2 separate regions of the Homo sapiens genome follow, and region 1 is linked to region 2. Evidence: promoter capture Hi-C in human tissues and cell types (Jung and others, 2019). All regions are on one chromosome and are shown on one strand. The core of a region is centred on a gene start or on the middle of the fragment in contact, and the rest is flanking DNA. Distances in the headings are between cores, read along the strand shown.

Evidence for each region. The method cuts DNA at HindIII sites, captures the fragments that hold promoters and counts their contacts. A contact is called where the count stands out against the background at its distance.
Region 1: a contact is called between a fragment that was not itself captured here and the fragment with the promoter of EEPD1 in region 2, in 2 of the 25 tissues and cell types used here (neural progenitor cells and stomach).

The regions. Positions count from the first base shown.
Region 1 is chr7:36,063,147-36,068,754 of GRCh38, forward strand. It overlaps LOC124901617 (a long non-coding RNA gene), which reads left to right and starts at 2,967. Exons shown (of 2, transcript XR_007060289.1): 1 at 2,967-3,057; 2 at 3,270-3,540. RefSeq lists an enhancer at 2,083-3,282. The HindIII fragment of the contact is 4,735 bases long and covers 1-4,587 here.
Region 2 is chr7:36,150,827-36,157,224 of GRCh38, forward strand. EEPD1 (endonuclease/exonuclease/phosphatase family domain containing 1) reads left to right here and starts at 2,428. Exons shown (of 8, transcript NM_030636.3): 1 at 2,428-2,848; 2 at 3,307-4,376. The coding sequence starts at 3,499. RefSeq lists a silencer at 1,840-2,559. The HindIII fragment of the contact is 14,356 bases long and covers 1-6,398 here.

The DNA of each region.
Region 1 (5,608 bases), core at 970-3,469, 88 kb before region 2:
CAATAGAAAAATTTAAAAGCACCCTTTTATGGGCCAGGGATCAGCTAATGATGGTATACTGGCCAAATCTTGCCCACAGGTATGTTTTGTGAGTAAAGTTGTATTGGAACATAAATATGCTCATCATTGGCATGCGTTGTTTTCACACCACAACAGCACAGTTAAGTTGTTACAACAGAGACAGCTGGCTGAGGAAATCTAAAAGATACTATGTGGACCTTTACAGAAAAAGTGTATATAACTCTGCCCTAGGCTAAATAATTGGAGAATTAAAATAAACAACAACAACAACAAAAAGAATTGGAGAATTAAGGAGTCATGAGCCATGGCTCATTAGCTAATCAATAACTCAAAAAATAGCAAGATAAGAGGGATAACTCCAACCCACACATGCACGGAACCTCGTGTGTCAACATTTGCCACATCTCTCCCCCTCGCTCTTCCTCCAGGATTTCCCACGCAGCAGGTGGGAAAGCGACCCCTGTGGATGGAGCAGGAAGCAGGGCTCCAGGAAGGACACCTGCAATTAACACCTATTTAAAAAGCGAAACAACACTGATTAATTCCAGGAAAAAAAAATCTAAGTACAAGAAATGACTCTATTGTTCTACTAGACCCAGTTGTGAAGAATATTTGCAATCATATAGAACACACATGTTGAATCTTGATCTAAGCTTTAAAATTGTGCTGTAACTTTATCAGGAGATTGAGGAAGAGTAAAAGTGAGTGAAGAAAGTATAAGAGAATTAAATCCTTATTTTGTAGAGTAGAAAGTCAGTAGAAGCTACACTAAAGTGAAAACATGGAGCATGTTTTCTGAACAGGAGCTAAACCCCAGAATGAAAAGAGTTGAACTTGTTTTCGTCTTGTGTGGGGAGAGGCAATAGCAGGGACAGGTCAGGGACGGAATGCTGAATAGCATTTGAATTTCAAGTATGATATGGATAGCTTTAAAAACAATGGTTGAAAACAACAGTAGGAAGGGATAGAAAATCAAGTCTACTACCCCAGCATGATGGGCTAATGGTGTCCTTCCAAATTCATATGACCTCAGCATGCGACTATTTGGAGGCAGTCTTTAAAGATGAAATAAGTTAAAATGAGGTCATTAGGGTGGGCCCTAGTCCATTAAGACAGCTGTTCTTGTTATGGTAAAGGGGTCCTGATCTAGACCCTAACAGAAGGTTCTTGGATCTTGCGTAAGAAAGAATTCTAAGTCCATTAAGTGAAAGCAAGTTTATGAAGAAAGTAAGGGAACAAAAGAATGACTACTCCATAGGCAGAGCAGCCCCGAGGGCCACTGGTCGACCATATTTATAGTTATTTCTTGATTATATACTAAAAGGATGGATTATTCATGAGATCTTTGGGAAAAGGGGTGGGTAATTCCCAGAACTGAGGGTTCCTCCCTTTTTAGACCATTTAGGGTAACTTCCTGACGTTGCCATGTCATCTGTAAACTGTGCTGGCACTGATGGAGTGTCTTTTTAGCATACTAATGCATCATAATTAGCGTACAATGAGCAGCGAGGATGGCAAGGGGTCACTTTCATTGCCATCTTGGTTTCAGTGGGTTTTGGCCAGCTTCTTTACCATGACCTGTTTTATCAGCAAGGTCTTCATGGCCTATATCTTGTGCTGACCTGCTGTCTCACCCTGAGACTTAGAATGCCTAATCTCCTGGGAACGTAGCCCAGTAGATCTCAGCCTTATTTTACCCAGCCCCCACGCAAGATGAAATTATTCTGGTTCAAACACTTCTGACATCCTGCCAAGAAGCAGACACATGCAGGGGGTGACCATGCAAGCTCACAGGGAAAAAACATCCATCTGCAACCCAGGATCCAAATTTCAAAAGAAAAAATTCTGCCCACACATTGATCTTTTAATCTCCATAACTAGCAGACAATTTGTAAAGCGCCCCCCTGAAGCACTTTGTTAACGCAGCTGAAACAGACTAAGGCCCCCAGATTCCCTGAGGTGGAAGTGGACTGGTCTGAGGTGGGTATGACTGGCCCTGATGGGGGGGAGGAACTTCTCAGGTCCATGCCTTTGGGGCAGCTGCTGAGCTAAGCTTGTGTCCAGAATTGGTTCCTTCCCGTGGGTTCTTGGTCTGGCTGACTTCAAGAATGAAGCCGTGAACACTTGCGGTCAGTGTTAAGGTTCTTAAAGATGGTGTGTCTGAGTTTGTTTCCTTACATGTTCAGATGTGTTTGGAGATTCTTCCTTCTGGTGGATGTGTGGTCTCACTGACTTCAGAAGTGAAGCTGCAGATCTTCGCCGTGAGTACTACAGCTCTCACAGATGGAGCATCCACAGTTGTTCTTCCTGGTGGGTTAGTGGTCTTGCTGGCTTCAGGGGAGAAGCCAGAGACCTTCTTGGTGAGTGTTACAGCTCATGAAGGCGGCACTTCCAGAGTTATTCCTTTCTCCTGGTGGGTTCATGGTCTCACTGGCTTCAAGAGTGAAGCTGCAGACTTTCCCGGTGAGTGTTACAGCTCATAAAAGTCCAGAGTTGTTCGTTCCTTCTGGTGGGTTCATGGTCTCACTGGCTTCAGGAGTGAAGCTGCGACCTTCCTGGAGAGTGTTACAGCTTCTAAAAGCAGTGCAGACCCAAAGAGTGACCAGCAACAAGATTTATTGCAAAGAGCAAAACAACAACACACTCACAAAGTCCAAACAGCTGTCCCAGGGCGTTCAGGTGGCCTGCTTTTATTCCCTTATTTGGCCCCACCCACATCCTGCTGATTGGTCCATTTTACAGAGAGCTGATTGGCCCATTTTACAGAGAGCTGATTGGCCCATTTTACAGAGTGCTGATTGGTCCGTTTTTACAGAGTGCTGATTGGTGCGTTTACAAACCTTTAGCTAGACACAGAGCACTGATTGGTGCATTTACAATCCTTTAGCTAGACAGAAAAGTTCTCCAAGTCCCCACCCCACCCAGAAACCCAGGCGACTTCACCTGTCAAGCTGAGCTGAGCTCTTGATTTTTCTCCCACTGGAAGGTCAACATTGTTCGGGATTCCTCATCTTGCCGTGGCTCTGAGTTGGCTAAGTATGACTGCAAAGCATGGCACTTTCACTTGGCAACTCCCTCCCCTCACTCACTATAGCAAACCATTCTTTAGTCCCTGTGCAGAAACTTTGTTTGTTTGTTTGTTTGGGGCTTTACTTTTTGGAAGCCACGGAGGCACACTGTACAAAGGTTTTTGTGGGAAGCAAATTGCCTTTCCTTTTATTTATTTATTTATTTTTCCTTTTTGGCAGATGCCAAGGTCATCTTTCTGTTTGTACTACAGATACGCTGTAATTGATTTTCTGAGCGAACCTCTGCATGTTCCTACGACATTTTGTGATCTTCCAAGTGAACAACCTGACAGTGCCAACATTTATACTGAAGTAAAAGAACTCCTGAAAATTCTCATATAAATGTCAGCAATATTGTGGAAGTTTGACCACTTTCATGAGTCCATACATTGGAAATCAAAGTAATAAGGAAATATCTTAACTCTATTAAAATCATTTTTTCTCCTTTGTATTTTTTTTTCAGTCTGCTAACAAACACAGCCTGACTAGTTATTCTAGCTCAATTTTGTCGTGTGTGTGTGTGTTTGGGTGCAGACATGTATTTGTGTGCTTCTAAACTTAATTCTTGTTACATTGGTTTTCCACCGGGCGTGGTGGCTCACGCCTGTAATCCCAACACTTTGGGAGCTTGAGGTGGGCAGATAACCTGAGGTCAGCAGTTCAAGACCAGCCTAGGCAAGAAGGCGAAATCCCATTTCTACTAAAAATACAAAAGTTAGTTGGGCGTGGTGGCATGCGACTATAATCCCAACAACTCAGGAGAATCACTTGAACCCGGGAGGCGGAGGTTGCAGTGAGCCGAGATCGCACCACTGCACTCCAGCTTGGGTCACAGAGCAAGACTCTGTCTCAAAAATAAAAACAACCCCTCCCATCAAAACATTGTTTTTCGAAAACAGTAGAGACGGAGTTATACTTCCAAATAGCTTGCACTCATTTTAAGCACTGGAAGTACTGTCCTGGGAATCTTGTCAGGACTGAAAATTCACCAGAAGAGAGAAAACAGATTTGATGTGTCCTCTTTCCAACCCAAGCTGCTTCCCATGCTGTGAGCATTATCAGAGAAGGAGACAGAGGAGGTAAGGAGGCCATATTAATGGCTTGGCTTTGCTTTGGGGCATCTATTGAAACTTGCTGCTATGGCCAGTTTTTGTTGCTCCTGTTGATTCTTTGCTTTTGTGTTTTGTTATTCTGGATTTGGGGGCTTTATTTTCTAATAAAGTAGTGTATCTGTATGTTTTCATGAATGGCCCTACTAGAGTCACTGTCTCTTGAGTTATCATGGTGTGGGACGCTTTCCCTCGCTGCAGATAGACTCATGCACACCTAGCATTACACAGGGCTCTGTCCTCAGAACAGCCAAGTGCCTGGAAGGCAATAGCTTTCTTGATTCTCTTTGCAAGTGCTATCTTGTGTTCCTTCATTTTTTTTTTTTTTGATAACTCTCCTAAGCCATTATAATAACTGGGACCCAGCGATTGTGTAAGGAAGACTGCCTTTATTTGCAGAAAACAGAGAATCCCAACAAGTGATATGACTGTCTCATTCACTGGTGTGAGATCTGTAATGACTATGAAGTAGCTAACAGCTAGAACTCACCATTATACGGCAAAGACCAGGCATACCATCTCTGGCAATGTTCTGTAAAAAATAATAATACATGTATCAGATCCTCATTTGCATAATAGTAACAAAATTCAGTTCCTTAAAAATCTAGAGTGTGTTTTCTACATACTTGCTTCCTTCATTTTCACAATGAATTATTTTGCACTGCTCATTTCACAGTTCCACGAAGTTCCTGCCAGTAGCTCATTTAAAGGACAAACTTGCTTTATATATCTCAAGGAATTCAGATGATGAAATCATTTGAACTAACCAAGAAGTGAAATGCTAATGTTCTAGAGGTGTACTTTCACCTCTTTGTTAAATACTGTACTATATTATGAAAATATAGTCAAGGAATTATTAAGTAACAGTATAGGTGACATGCTAAAATAAACTATCTGTAATAGGTATGACCTACATTTTTTAGTTTTGTGGAATACTGAGAATTAACAACATGAAAAAACTGCTTAATATAAGCACATTCATGCAAATCTGATGTGGCTTGAAAAGAAATTAATCCTTGAGACAAAATATGTGGTTCACTTATTCTACATATCTATACTATCCTCTAGGAAACTTTCACAGTATTGAGTTGCTGGTGTCATAAATCTGTGACAACACATAGCAAATCTTACATAACACACAGTTGCAAGTATTTCCTATTGCTGTAAATTTGGTTGATAATACTTTGCTTCATTTAGAGGTTAGAAGAATTGTTCATTTTTCAATTAAGTTTCATGGTTACATGGTTTAAACTGAAGTGACATAAAACAATTATTTTCATTTAATATATACTTTATCATAATTATAAATCAAATAGTCTTTGGAAAATGCTATATTTTTGTTTAATTAGCAATTAAATGGGAGATTCATAGATTTCCCTGAGAAAGTTGTTCTAATATTCAGGATAGAAG
Region 2 (6,398 bases), core at 1,178-3,677:
ACTTTTCAATGTCATGTAATAGTTTGTCTTTATTGCTCAGTAGCATTCCATTGTATGGATATACTACAATTTATTCATTCATCCACTGATGGATTTGAGTTTCTTGTTGTTTTGCTTTGTGTGTGTGTGTGTGTGTGTGTGTGTGTGTGGGTGTGTGTGTGTGTGTGTGTTTGGCTATAACAAACAAAGCTCCTATGAACATCCACATTCAAGTCTCTGGGTTTCATGTTTTCCTTTTTCTTTGGTAAATACCTATAAGTAGATTGGTTGAGTCATATGGTAAGTATACGTTTAACTTCTTAGGAAACTTCCAAACTGATTTCCAAAGTAGTGGTGCCATCTTACACCTCCACCAGCAATGTATGACCATTTCAATTGCTCTGCGTCCTCACCAACATTGGATACAATCAGTCGTTTTAAAGTTAACCATCTCATTGCATGTTTTTGTGGGGTGTATGTATGTGTGTTTTTAAATGCACTTTGGTTTGGCCAACGCTTGGTTTCATTTATACCAAGGGGAGCATTTGCTAGGTTTATGGGGAATAAAACCAGATTATTTCTGTTGTTCTAGGATATTATTAATAGAGTCCTCTCTTCACCTCCAGAGTGTCCTGGTTTGTATGATAAAATATGTTTTCTCTGCTTCCAGCCCAAGTAGCCACGCTCCACGGCTGTGCTTCCACAGCCACGTTGCGCATCAAGGCATTCTGCTCAACGAAGAGTTTTCTCTGTTTTCCTGCTTGTCTTAAACTGTTTTTTCCTTACCGCACCAGGATTTCAGTGCGTGGCATAATGTAGCCCAGTGTTTGGGTGGGAGATGATGGTAGGTAGCAAGGCATTTTTGCGATCAAGTGCAAATAGCTTGCCTAAAAATAAAGCCAATAAAGAGAACCGTGGAGCCAGAGATGGAGGCAGTCCTGCCATGTCCTAATGACCCCATCATCACTTGGGTCGGATGCAACCAGACTTGAGGTAAGATTCCTTACCTTAACTTTTCAACAAGGAACCAAAAATTTCCCCCCGACCTTTTTTTTTTTTTTTTTGGTCTAAGCTAGTTTGACTTGGTTTTCTGACCAATATACATAGCAGGGGAATGTGCCTCAGAAAGGCAGTAGCATTTTCCAAACTTGGGCTGCCGCTAATTTTACAACCAAAGTACCTTCCGCCTGTGAGAGGTACTATTTTTGCTGACCCAGTCCTTGGAATTGAAACCAGATGCACTGGTCACATTGGTTGGGGATGAAACTTCAGAGAACACTAAACGTCCAGGGTCAAAGTATTCAACGATATCACCGCATGATTTGCTTAATCGAATACTCTAGCTCTAGGTATCCACTATAATGCAGAGGGCTCTTTAATCTTTAACCAAATTGTCATTTAGCAGTGTGATGCAAAAACTCTTCTGGGTTTTGGGAAGCAGCCCCCATTTCCCTCCTTCGTAATGATTAGACTTAATATTACAAAAACTTATCCTTGTTTACTCACAGCGCTAAATGTGCAAAGGAGCAAACCTGTATTTGACCTATGCGAACACACAGGAGGGTGGTGCGTGCCCTCTGCTAGGAGCACAATGCGTCGCTGGCGTTATTAGAGGACATCTCTCTGAGCGGAGCAAAGGTAATACACTGGTGGAAGAAAAGAAAAGGCCGAAAGTGGGGACAGAAATTAAGACGATCCCATTCAGTCTCCTCTGGAACGTTCTGCAAAATTCCGTGAGACCCTGGACCTACAGCGATGCACTCTCAGGGACTGCCCCGGCCTTCATCCCCACACCTCAAAGACAGACGAAAAGCAGCTGAGCAGATCTCGCCTCGGGCAATCCTAAACAGCCTCTACCAGGCACAACCAGTCCTAGGCCCCGGGCGGCAACCATGGTCCGGGGGCAGCTGACTTAGGACAGCCTCCCTGTGACCCGCCCTCGCCGGCACGGCGCCGGCTCCGCCCCTTAAGCCCCCTAAGTCCCGCCTCTGCGCTCCCGGGGCCTACCCCCGCGCTCATGGCCCCGCCCCCGCTTTTCCTACCCCATCGCGCCCTGGCCCCGCTCCCACACTCTATGACCCCGCCTCTCGCACTCCAGGCCCGCCCCACGCGCTCCAGGGTTCTGCTCTCCACCCATTTGTGCCAGGCCACGCCCCCACACCCATGGCTCCTCCTCTCGCACGCCAGGGCCTCCCCTCGCGCTCTCTGGTTCGTTCTCCACCCTCTTGAGCCTTGATGCCGCCCCCTCTTCCATGGCCCCGCCTCTCCCACTCCAGGCCCGCCCTTGCGCTCTCGGGTTCCTCTCTCCACCCACTGGTGCCAGGCCTCGCCCCGCGCCAGGGCCCCTCCCCCACGTGCCCTCGGGAGTCCCGGGGAGGAGTTGCCGCGCGGAGGAGGCGTGGCCGCGGTGCCTGCGGAGGCGCGAGCGGCGCGGCGCGGCGCGGCCGGGACTTTGGCTTTGACACCGACTGCGAGCGGGAGCCGTGCGGCTGGTGCTGGGTCTGGACTGGCTCTGGCGGATCCCCGCCCGAGTTGGGCGCAGGACTTTTTGCCGGGGTAAACGCAACTGCGGCGGCGCCGCCGCAAGCCCCGGTGCAGCCTCGGCGGCGGGTTTCGCCGCCGCTGCCGCCGCCTCCGAGCAGCCCTGCGGCTTCTATTCACTCTGGGAGAGCGATGCTAAGTTTCTCCCATAGAAAGAGCCGGGACACGCAGACCGAAGCGGCGTAGTCGGCTTCCAGGGCCTGACCAGTGACCCACACCCGCGCGGACGCCTAGGCTGGAGGCAGGGGGCCCGTGCTGTCCCGGGCTGGGCTCAGGCTTCCGAGCCGCAGGTGGAAGAGGAACCGGCGCCCCGCAGAGCGGCCGAGAGGTGGGGCGCGGGGACCCGCGGCAGGTCGGGTGGGGGGTCGATAAGCCCCTTCTCAGTGCCCGCTCCGGGGAGCACGGACTTCCCAGGTTGCAGGTAGCGCTGTGTCAGATGCGGAGCGTGGGGGAGGTGGAGTGGCCACCCCGTCTGCGCGAGCCCAAGTGTGGGTGACCCAAGTGTCAGAGTTGAGAGAGGCCTGGAGGAGAGGCATGAGGCTGATGGGGATAGGTCTCTTCCCAAGAGAAGCGGCTCGTAGCCTTTTTGGACTCCAGTGTGATAAAACCCGGACGTCCCTAGAGGAGAATCCACATGGGCCTAGCCTCATTGTGCCTGCGTTTTTAGGGGTTCACGGGCAGCCACCAGTCCCCGACTCCTGGTTACTAACTCTAGCACTAGGTAGGGGGTGCTAATGCAAATTTCTTAATTCAATGGGTTTCTATGTTTATTGATTTATTTTCTAGGCGGCCAAGTGAAAGGTAATTTTGGACACGCCAGGCATGGAAGATTCGGTGTTTGTCTATAGTAACCTCTTCAGTCCCTGAATCCTGCACCTTCCGTTTTTCTGTGCTTGTACGGCCTACTGGGCTTCCTCCCTAGCCAGAGAGCTCTTCTGCAGTGGTGCGGCCTTCCCGGGAGCCTGATCCTGGCGGACCATGGGGAGCACCCTGGGCTGCCACCGCTCCATCCCCAGGGACCCCTCGGACCTGTCCCATAGCCGCAAGTTCAGCGCAGCCTGTAACTTCAGCAACATTCTAGTGAATCAGGAGCGGCTCAACATCAACACTGCCACGGAGGAGGAGCTGATGACCCTGCCTGGGGTGACGCGTGCCGTGGCACGCAGCATCGTGGAGTACCGAGAGTATATCGGTGGCTTCAAGAAGGTGGAGGACCTGGCATTGGTCAGTGGTGTAGGCGCCACCAAGCTGGAGCAGGTCAAGTTTGAGATCTGTGTGAGCAGCAAGGGCAGCTCAGCGCAGCACTCTCCCAGTTCCCTGCGGCGGGACCTGCTAGCGGAGCAGCAGCCTCACCACCTGGCCACAGCTGTGCCCCTCACCCCACGTGTTAACATCAACACAGCCACCCCGGCCCAGCTCATGAGCGTGCGAGGCCTCTCGGAGAAAATGGCCCTCAGCATCGTGGACTTCCGCCGTGAGCATGGGCCCTTTCGCAGCGTTGAGGACCTAGTGAGGATGGATGGTATCAATGCCGCCTTCCTGGACAGGATCCGGCACCAGGTGTTTGCTGAGAGGTCCAGGCCCCCATCCACCCACACGAACGGGGGACTGACCTTCACCGCCAAGCCTCACCCGAGCCCCACTTCCCTGAGCCTGCAGAGTGAGGACCTGGACCTGCCGCCAGGGGGGCCCACCCAGATTATCTCCACTCGGCCGTCCGTGGAGGCCTTTGGAGGCACAAGGGATGGGAGGCCTGTGCTGAGGCTGGCCACCTGGAACTTGCAGGGCTGTTCCGTGGAGAAGGCCAACAACCCCGGGGTGCGAGAGGTGGTGTGCATGACACTCCTGGAAAACAGGTGAGGACAGGAACCACCATGGGTGTTGGGTGTGAAGGCAACTTGTGCGTGACCTCATCTATGGATGCAAATGAATGGATTCTTTTGCGGGTAGGGAGGGTGCAAGAGTTTTTAATCAATGTTCTTGAAGCCTCAGCCAATACCGTCACCTGAGAATGGGCTGTCCTTCTGCTCCAGAATTTTCTGAATACAGCTGGGCTTGTGACCCATGTCTTGAGTGTGAGATATCTGAGACTGATTCATAATTTTGGGGTAAGCAGAGGTTGTGTTTTTGTTACTGCTTTGGAGGATGCTGGGTCTACACCAAGTCAGGCACTCAGAGCATGGGAACTGGTGCAGTTTCGCATGTGAGAAAGAGCTCATTGGATTTTGTTTATTAATGGGAGGGAAAATCATATTTGTTCCATCAAATATGCCTATTTGTGCACACAAAATCATCTTAAAGGCCAAGTATTTGCAAACACATACAAGTGTCTATATTTACCAAAATGCTATGAATGAATCACTCTCCATTCTTTTTCCTTATTTAACCTGGAGTTGGTTTTCAGCCCTAAAATTGTAGCCCAAAATGTGTGTAACCTTTTCTGTGCCATAGCCAGAAAAAAGCAAGCTGACGTGTGTGTGTGAAAATTGGCCGGATTTTCCCCATTTAAACCAAAGAAAAGAGTCCAGTAGGATAGGCCGTTACCACAGAGCGTTTATGTTATTCACAATACTGCTCTCTGTAGGAATTTCTGTTAGCCTCGTCATAAACAAAAACAATATTATTTTGGCAGTAACTCCTGCTGTTAGTAAAATAGCAAACTGTATAATGTAATCAGGTGTGGGAAAGAAAGAAATATTTGTGATGGTCCCTTCCAGGTCATAAGAGCTGTGATCCTGGACTTGAGGCGTTTTGCCCTGCCACCCACCAGGGGTGCAGTGTTTGTGGCTACTCGTTGATTTCCTTTGCACTGAGTTGTTGGTGAGGCTGGCGGCGGGGGGGCAGCAGTTTGGTGACACGAAGTGAACTCTCAGCGGGAAATCACAGTGCATGATGGCAGATCACCAGGAAAATTAGTGAGGAGAAAAGCAGGTCACAACGTTTCCTTGGCACTGACCCAGTGGCATGCTCTCATCACTGAGAGAGGGACTCCACACTGGGTCAGGGAACTGGACTGGGGAGCCCTTGAATGCTCTCCCTGCACTGCTGTGTCCTCTCTTTTGCAGCCTAACTCACTCCTTCTGCAAAGTCTTCTTGTGCACAGGTGAGAGCTGTACTCGGCACCGGGAGATATTTATAAAGAATGGCTTGATAATTGTTCTCTTTATCCATAGCAGCATGGGCGTGTGAATGGGAAATGAGGAGGGGAGAGGCAGGAAAGACAAAGCTGCTTAATTCCTATTATGCTTTCTAGTGGCTCAATTTGGGAGGGGGGTGATGGATTAGGATCAAAAGTTGGTCCAGTGGGACTGACCAACCAGGCAGCCCCTGCCTATTTATTATGTCAGTGGTTTCTAAAGTGTGGTCCCCCCTGGGGACCAGCAACATCAGCTACTGACTCAGAAACTTTGTTTCTGTGTTTTAACACACCCTCCAGGTGGTTCTGATGCACACTAAAGTTTGAGAACCATTGTACTAGGTGTTAGGCAATCAGCTGTCCCTCTGTCTCTTGGAAGCCCCTTCCTCTGGCAGGGTTAGTGAATTCATGCAGAACTTTCCAGGTCTAGTCGGCCCTCCATACCTGTGGGTTCCACATCCATGGATTCAACCAACTGTAGATGGAAAATATTCAGGAAAAAAAAAAGTTGTGTCTATACTGAACATGTCGAGTTTTTTCTTGTCATTCCCTAAACAATCCAGTATGGTAACTATTTACATAACATTTACATTGTATTAGGCATTCTAAGTAATCTAAAGATGAATTAAAATATACTGGAGGATGTGCATAGGTTATATGTAAATAATATGCCATTTTATATCAGGGACTTGAGCATCATGGATTTTGGTATCACAGGGGCTCCTGGAATCAATCTCTGCAG